Regions from separate parts of the Homo sapiens genome. Here region 2 is linked to region 1. Evidence: promoter capture Hi-C in 16 types of primary human blood cells and fetal thymus (Javierre and others, 2016). All regions are on one chromosome and are shown on one strand. The core of a region is centred on a gene start or on the middle of the fragment in contact, and the rest is flanking DNA. Distances in the headings are between cores, read along the strand shown. Region 1 holds the start of CYP19A1 (cytochrome P450 family 19 subfamily A member 1). Region 2 overlaps LOC107983981 (a long non-coding RNA gene).

Evidence for each region. The method cuts DNA at HindIII sites, captures the fragments that hold promoters and counts their contacts. A CHiCAGO score of 5 or more calls a contact.
Region 2: a contact is called between a fragment that was not itself captured here and the fragment with the promoter of CYP19A1 in region 1, in 1 of 17 cell types (total CD4 T cells). The highest score is 5.6, in total CD4 T cells.

The regions. Positions count from the first base shown.
Region 1 is chr15:51,335,531-51,340,096 of GRCh38, reverse strand. CYP19A1 (cytochrome P450 family 19 subfamily A member 1) reads left to right here and starts at 1,501. Exons shown (of 10, transcript NM_000103.4): 1 at 1,501-1,602. RefSeq lists cis regulatory regions at 1,195-1,224, 1,289-1,306, an enhancer at 1,258-1,337 and promoters at 1,258-1,576, 999-1,576. The HindIII fragment of the contact is 2,086 bases long and covers 582-2,667 here.
Region 2 is chr15:53,019,360-53,023,925 of GRCh38, reverse strand. All of the region lies in intron 4 of LOC107983981 (a long non-coding RNA gene), which reads right to left. Among named protein-coding and RNA genes, the nearest start is that of LINC02490, 95 kb to the left of the region's middle. The HindIII fragment of the contact is 556 bases long and covers 1,882-2,437 here.

The DNA of each region.
Region 1 (4,566 bases), core at 252-2,751:
GTTATCATGAGATCTGGTTGTTTAAAAGTGTGTAGCATCTCTCCTGGCCCCTCTTCCTCCTGCTCCCACCATGTGAGATGTTCCTGCTCCTGCTTTGCCTTCCTCCATGAGTAAAAGCTCCCTGAGGCCTCCCCAGATGCAGGTGCTGCCATGCTTCCTGTTCAGCCTGTGGAACCATGAGCCAATTAAACTTCTTTTCTTGTAAGTTACCCAGTCTCGGGCTTTTCTTTATAGCAAGGCAAGAATGGACTAATACACATACCAATTCTTGCAGGTAGGATTTTTTGGCACAGGAGAGAAAGCTGAGTAGTATCAGACTTCTTGCCCCCTACTCTCCAGGGTGAGCCAGGGTAGAGCCTCTGAGAATGCACAAGGAAACTGAAGTGACATCTCAATCAGAAATTCTGAGTCAAAGTTTAGATTCCTGAGTTTTAATAGGAACATTGACCAACTTCAGTATTCTTAGAAGAGCATACAGGATAAGAAGAAATTAGGAAAGCATGAAGGTCCAAGTGTTTCATAAAGTACCCCCACTGTGGGGATATGATGACTGGGAGGGGATGGCAGTGATGTAAAAAGCTTTGTCCATTTCCTCCCAACTCAAACGTTCTGTGACCTACTTGAAGAACTGTCATGTATCCTTATCTCTTTTCATCCAGGTATCAGGTTTAGGGCCAATGGGGAGGAGCCACTGAGAGGGAGGGTTGACACTCAGCATCATTCAGATCTTCATTTAATTCAGTAAACACTTAACTGAGCACTTCCTGTGCCTGGTATGATAATGGGCATTGGAGATACGGAAGTAAAAAAGACAGGCAGATTACCCTGTGAGCAGCTGGAACACCGTGGAGCCTTCTGGGCTTCTCTTTATCCTAACATTCATTGCAGTTACTGTTGACTGATCATCTCTCAGCAATACCCACCATTAACCATGGAATAGAAGCCTCCTGAGGCTAGGGGCCATGTCACCCCCAACACATAGCACAGTTCCTGATTTGGAATTCACTATTACCCGTTGAATAAATGAGTGAATGAACGAATGAATAAATGAAAAGCTGTATAGTGAAGGCACTTCTATGTAGAACAATGTGGTGTGTGGTGGGGGGTGTGATCTTATGATTACATGTATATAGATTTTTGTCCATGGTTCTTGTCCATAACTCCCATGACACTTGCTGAGGTCTTTTGCTATAATGTAGAGGTGCTTTAGGCCTCAGGAAACAGAATATTTCTCTGGCCTTCTTTGCCCTCCTTTCATCCACCCAAGGCGGGACTCTATAATCTGATTGTGGGTCATAAGACCCTCATTCCAGAGGAGGTCATGCCCCATACCCTGGAGGAAGGAATGCTGCACAAAGAGAGGAAGAAGAATCTGGACAGACAGACCTTGCTGAGATTAGATCATACCCTTTTTGTCCAATCACATTTTGTTCAATCACATGCTTCAGTCATGGACAACAAATGAAATCTCCATAAAAGGCCCAAAGGACAGGGTTCAGGGAGTTTCTGGAGGGCTGAACACGTGGAGGCAAACAGGAAGGTGAAGAAGAACTTATCCTATCAGGACGGAAGGTCCTGTGCTCGGGATCTTCCAGACGTCGCGTATGTATCTCTTAATCTGACTGAGCCCTCAACCTGTGGGATCAGACACTCTTTCCAGGTAGATAGTGTTGGAACTGAGTTGGAGGACACCCAGCTGGTGCCCGCTGCTTGGTGTGTGGGGGAAAATCCCCTACATTTGGTCGCAGAAGTCTTCTGTGTTGATGACTGTTGTCGTGGTGTGAGAGCAGAGGGAAAACACTGCTTGAGTGTTTTTCTGAAATAGGAGGGCCTAAGAACTATACTGTTCTATGCCACAGAACTGGCCCCCTACTTTCCTTGAAAGGCTGGCTATCCAATGGTGAGGAGAGGAAGTGGTAGCCTGAACCAGCCTCCCCATTTCCCCACCTCCCACCCCAGTTCAGAGCCCAGATCCAGTAGACAGAGCAGAGATGAGGCCTGCTTGGAGCCAGGCAGGCTCTATTAGACAACTTCAGGCCAAGAAGCTGCCCCTCTTGGGATGCAGGACTCAAAAGGCTTGTAGCATGGCCACCCCGTGGGCTGGGTTGGTGGAAAGCCTGGGATATTGCTCTGGGGCAAGAGGGGCAGAAGGAAGCGCAAATGAAAAGCCAGACTCCTTTCCTACCAGACTCCACTGTCAGATCCCTCTCCAACTCTTCCTGTGTGGGATGATGGCATTTTTCACAGAAGAAGGGGGACATGTTGATATGGCCTACAAGGTAGACATCTTCACTCATCTCTCACCCTAAAGTGGCTGTGCCCAAGCAGCTGCCATGCTCTGCCCTCTTTCCTCTTCTCCTCTATCTTCTCTCTCCAACCCTCTTTCCACCGCAGTGCCACACAGTGACCTATCTCCATCACTGGCCTATTTCAGTGTTGCCCACTTTAAGGCCTAACTCCGAGTACCCTTCCTCATCTAGCCTTGACTTCCTAGGCCAGTCCCAAGCACTGTGAGCTCTACAAGCTGCAGGGGCTCTGTGGTTATGCACCTGGGCTTTGGAATCAGACCTGACCTTGAAACTGTTTTTTAACTGCATGACTTTAGATATGCTACTCAAGTTCTTTAAAGAGACTGTAATTGTATCTATTTCATAGGGTTGTGAAGCTTTAATAAGAAAATACTTGTAAAGCACTTGTATAATAAATGTTCAACACGGGTTGGTATTGTTGGATATGGGCCATATGAACTGGCTGAGACTTACACTGTGTGTGCCTTGTGCTGTTAGTTGACACTTTAGTTCTTCTGTGCCTTGTGCTGTTAATCGACATCTTAGTTCTTCCACATCCTATTTCTTCAGTTGGGTTACAATATTCTTAAGGCAGGGACCTATCTTAACTGTCCTCTCACAGCAGGGACTTGTGCCAAGTAGGAATATTTGATTAATGGATTCATTAGCTAATCACACTTTGTAGATGCTTTTTGAGGAACAGAACTTTTGAATGCACGATAAACTTGGGTTCTCGTCTGAATACCATGGCTTTGAGGTTGGTTATATGGAGCCTTTCAGTGTGAATCCCTAAGCCTCTTGAGATTTCTTGAGAGGCAGATATGCCTGCATAGCCTGCCCTGCCTGATACTTCACAGAATGGGCTGCTACTTTTTACTTATTATTAAAAAAAAAAAAAAGCTATCAATCTGGCCTGTTTTGTTGACACAGGAGGCTCAGGATATAATGCGGACACAGGGAGATATCTCAATTCCCTTTTTTTGGAGACCAAAGCAGCCAAGAACATTGTGTGCTATCTTTACAATGAGAAGTAGTTTTTCCATTAAAAGGCAGATGCTTCATTTCCAAAAGTTAAATAGAATGGTCCTTAAAAATGATTCCAGCTGGTTAACTTTAGGGCTCTGGAGAATAAAATCAAATTCAAGAATATACCCCAACTTTAGTTCCACAGCATTTCTTCCTGATTGTGAAGTAAATAATTTTCCTGGCCTGGCACTTGGGTATTCTTGTCTTCAGTGATGAGATTGACAGCTACACTGTGACTTTTGATGGTTTTACTGCCCCACCACCCTTCCACCACACTGGTGATTAGGGAGAGAGCCACCCTAAAAGTTGTCACCACATGCATCTTCCACTCAGCCTCTTATGGTTTTAACTCCCCATTCCTACTGTTAAACCCCAAGAAACTTCACACCATCCAACCAAAGTCAGCAATTCTCCCTTTTTTCTTTCTTTTATTCTTTCATGTATTCATTTACTCAGCAAATGGTAATTGGGTGCCTACTATCTGCCAGGAACTGTGCCAGGAGCCAGGAATAGCATGGAGAGCAAAGCCAGGCATCATTCCTGAAGCCTGGAGTGGGGAGACAGATTTACCAAACAATATTAGACATGAGGGTGCAATTCTAAATGCGGCCACGAGACAAATGCTCTGGAAGAAAGGAATGCAGTTCCTTGAGATCATATCACTGAAGAGCCTGTCCTAGAGTTGGATGTGTGGTTCAGGGAAGGCTTCCCTGAGAAAAGGATGCTTGTGTTGGCACCTGAAGCTGAGTTGTAAACTAGGCGAAGATAGGGGTGAGGAGAATTGCAGAGAGGAGGAACAACACGTTCAAGGCCCTATGGCAGGAGATGGCATGGCTTATTTGAGGAACCGTAAGAAGCCAATGCGGTGCCACATGGAGCGTCAGGAGCAAGGAGGAGGGAGTGAAATGAGGCTGTAACCAAGGCAGGGACCAGACTCTGTGGGTGGGACCTTCCTTGTAGGGCTGAGGCCTTTACTGTAAAAGCAATGGGAAACAAATGAGGAGTTTTACGTGTGTGTGGGATGGGGAGGAGTCGGTAGATGGATGACAGATTTTCATTTTAAAAGATTACCTTTTACTGCCAAGACTTGCAGTGGCTTCTGTCACTATGGAAACCATGTATGATCTCTGACCTCCACCAGGGCCAACTTCAGCCTTTAAAACCACCTGGAAATAAGGAAGTGCTGAGTTCTAGAAAATGTAACTTTCTCTTTCATCTGTATGTAAAAAGGTAGTTGAAAAACAGAACCGTG
Region 2 (4,566 bases), core at 910-3,409, 1.7 Mb before region 1:
ATTTTTCCTTTTTATTTTTCACATTTTGAATACAAAGACTTTGTAAGTAGATTTCAAATATGTAATATTTCTTGCAAATACTTTCCTTCTTTCTGTTTTGCCTTTTCACTTTCTTTTGATAAAAAGAAATTCTTAATGTTAATGTAGTCATATTTGCCCTTTTTTTATAGTTAGTGTTTTTTCCACGTTGGACCACAAAGATATTCTCCTAAGTTATCTTCTAGGCTGTTACTGTCTTGCCTCTCACATTTACATCTACCTGGAATTGATTTTTTTTATGGAGTGATGAAGGGGTCAAGTTTCTTGTTTTCCATGTTTTTACTCATTTTTCCTAGCATAATTTATTGATAAGCCTGAGCTTTCCCAACCATTTTGGTGTGCCACCTTTGTCATAAATTTAATGTTCATCTATCTGTGGTCAATTTCTGAACTTTCTATTATAGCCCACACTTTTATTTGCTTATATCTTATCATCTTCTGACTTGCCCTTTTTCAAGAATGCCTTAATTATTCTTGACCCTCTGAATTTTCATTTAAATTTTAGAATCAGGTTGTTTCCACCAAAAAAAAAAAATGAGCTTTTTATTGGGATGAGGATGTTTATTGGGATTGAACTGAAAAGGTAAGATTGAACGGCATTAACATCTTTCTTATATTAAATCTTCAAATCTATATACATTTTTTCTTCCAGTTATTTATATATTATTCTTAGTTTTATGGTATGCTTTGTGGTTTTCTGCATAGATGTCTTACACATCTGCATTAACCCGTTTTCATGCTGCTGATAAAGACATATCTGAGACTGGGAAGGAAAAGAGGTTTAATTGGACTTACAGTTCACGTGGCTGGGGAGCCCTCAGAGTCATGGCGGGAGGTGAAAGTTACTTCTTACATGGCAGCAGCAAGAGAAAATGAGGAAGAAGCAAAAGCGGAAACCCCTGATAAGCCCATCAGGTCTCTTGAGACTTATTCACTATCATGAGAATAGCATGGGAAAGACTGGTTCCCATGATTCAATTACCTCCTCCTGGGTCCCTCCCACAATACATAAGAATTCTGGGTGATAAAATTCAAATTGAGGTTTGGGGGTGGATACAGCCAAACCATATCAACATCATGTTTTAGATTTGTTTCTAGATAATTTATATTTTTACGCTATTGTAAATCGTATTTTTATTCATTTCATAGCTGTTTATTACAGGTATATAAGTTCACAGTTTATATTTCAATATTGACCAGTAATACTATAAGTCATGCATTAACTAAAGTCATGTATTACTAATGTTATCTGTACATTCTTTTGAATTTTTTCATAAAATCATATCATTTTTTGTAATCCTTTTATTTCTCCCTTCCAATCTATATACCTTTTTTCTTTTGGTTTTTCTGCCTCTTTGCACTGGATAGCATTTCCAGTATAATGTTGAAGAGAAGTGGTGATACTGAGGATCTTTCTGTTATTTCTAATCTCCAAAGAAGAGCATTTAACCATTAAGTATAAAATTATAGTAGACTTTTTATAGATATCTTTTACCATTAGGAAAATCTTCCTGTATTCCCAGTTTACTAAAAAATTCTTATTATGAACCAATGTTAAATTTTATTCAATGCAATTTCTGAACTTATTGAAATGGTCGATTTTTTCTCGTTTACTCTAAGTTAATTTCACTGATTTCAAAGGCTAAAGCAATCACATTTGATTTGTAACATTTTTATTAGGTTTTTTTAATACCTCTATGCCTATAAGTGAGATAGGCTTTATACTTGATATAAAATGTGTCTGGAATATTCTTTTGTGTAACATGATAGTTATTTTGGTCCTAAATGTCTGATATAATTTCTTATCTGATCTGATCTAGAGTTTTGTTTGTAGGAAAAGCTTTAATTTCAGATTCAATTTTCTTAACAGTTAAAAGACTATTCAGATTTTCTCTTTCTTCAGATGTCTTTTAATAAAATTGTACTTCTTTAAGAATGTGTTCATTTCCCCTAAATTTTGTAAAGTTTTGCTATAAAGTTATTCATAATAGTTTCTTATCATTTCAATATCTAGGACCTGAGATAATCACTTTTTTATTCTTGACATTGATTCCTCTCTGTTTCTCTCTCTTTCTCTCTCTTTCTGTGTGTGTGTGTGTGTGCATGTGTGTGTGAGTTTGTGTGTCTCCCTCTCTTGGCCTCACCAGAAACTTCTCAGTTTTAATAGCTTCTTCTAAAACCAACTTTTGCCTATATTGATGTATTGTACATTTATTTTTTGTTTTCAACTTCATTATTTTCTACTCTAACATTCATTATGACATTTCTTCTGCTTTCTTTGGTTTGATTTGCTGTTATTTCCCAACTTCTTAAGACGGATGCCTAGCTCATTAATTTCAACCTCCCATTTTTCCTAACTTATGTACTTAAAGCTATAAATTTCCCTATAAGCAAAGCTTTTTACTATATTTCACAAGTTTTGATATGTAACATTTCCAAAATCATTCAGTTGAAAGTATTTTAAAATTTCCATCATGATTTCTTCATTGAGCCATGGGTTATTGTTTAGAAGTATATGTCTTCATTTTCCAAAGGTTTGTGAATTTTATAGTTTCATTTTTGTTATTGATTTCTGGCTATGATTTTTTTTATTTCAATGAGTGAGCTGATTTCAGTCCAGAACAAGATTTTGTACTTCCAGGTGCACTATCCAAATGGTTCATGTGTGGAGCCAAGTCACAGCTAAGATTCAACATCCTGAGTCACATTTCAAAGCTGGGTATATAGCCAGCACATCTCACTAGCTCAGAGTTACTTTAATAAATGGCAACCATCTTTACATGTAAGATTCTGTTGTTCAGACCAGAAACTATTTCTCCCGCTCTAACTCTACTTACAAATGATTTCCTGGAGCTAAGCCAAAAACCCCAACAGGAAAGTGCTAAAATGGTGTACTAGTACAGATCCTTAGTACCGGGCACTACTCCATAAGAAGCTACCATATATCCTACCTATGTCGAAGCTACCCCCTCAAGTTATGTAGGCTCTCTGTGTGACCACACACAGCAGCCCTGCCCTCTTCCCACACTAAGCCTCAGCCAGACAGATCCATTTTCCTTAGCTAAAATGCCAGCTGAAGTAGGTCAGAAACCATGTATATTCAACCTTGTGTCTCCTGTGACATTTAGCTCAATTCCTAGCACCTGTGTTCAATAAATGTCTGTTGATGGATAAAGTAAAGGATGAATATCTGGACAGAGAGTCAGATAACAGAAGAAATTGAGCAAGTTTATTTTCTCCTACAAAGGACTGAGATCCTTTTTAAAATAGAGGTGGAATAAACATAAACTTAAATCAAGTTTCATATAACATAGAAAGCCAGCATCTATGAAAAGGAAAAATAACAAGACAGTCATCCTCTGAAATAATGGAACTTAAACCTATGAAGGAGAACATACAAGGTGAAACTATTAAAAACTAAATGTTGGTTGAAAAGGCAGTTGGATTCAAGAAAATTTAAAATGATGACAGGGTTTTTTTCTCCCTCCCAGATGCAGATAAAAGGTATTAGAATGCCTCAGCCACTTGGAAACAGCAAGATAGTGCATAAAGATAAACTCTGGAGCTTTACTTCAAGAAGGAAAATGGGAATCCACCAGAATCATGATGGGCACCACAGATACTGGGGAGGAGAACGCCAGCAAACAGCTCCTGTGACATTTAGCTGATAAAAGTGAGTGAAGCCTGAGTACCTCAGAGAGGCAAGTAGCCTCCCTCTATGACTCACATTTCCACTGGGGATCAGAGCAACCCAGGCTGAGGGAGAGCACTTTGTTTCCCATAAGTGTGGGAGCTAATTTGGGGAAAGGCTTGGAGACAATGTAAGGGAAAGACACAAGAAAAAGCTGCAGACATTTTCCCAGACCCAGGACGGAGAACAGGACACCATTTTTAGCCCAGGCACATACAAAGTCAGCCATTCTTTGGTGACCTGGCAGCATGAACGTCAGGCATTTTAATATCAGACCAGAGACTGGAATGCCTGCTCTCGAGTGAGGGAGAAAACTATCCTAAATATATACACACCCAACATTGGAGCACCCAGATTCTAGACTTACTAAAAGACTCGGAAAACCACACAATAATGTGGGGGACTTCAACATCCCACTGCCAGTGTTAGACAGACCATCAAGGCAGAAAACCAACAAAGAAATTCTGGACTTGAATTAGACACTTGACCAACTAGACCTAATAGACATCTACAGAATACTCCACCCATCAATCACAGGATATATATTCTTCTCATTTTCACACAAAACATAACCCAAGATCAACCACATGTTTATCCATAAAACAAGTCTCAATATATATTTAAAAATAAAAACATACCAACCATGCTCTTGGACCACAGTGGAAGAAAAAATAGAATTCAATACCAAGAAGATGTCTCAAAACCACACAATTACATGAAAATTAAACAACTTTCTGCTAAATGAATTTTGAGTAAACAATAAAATATAGGCAGAAATTTAAAAATACCTTGAAATTAATGATAACACAGATATACCAAAATCTCTAGGCTACAGC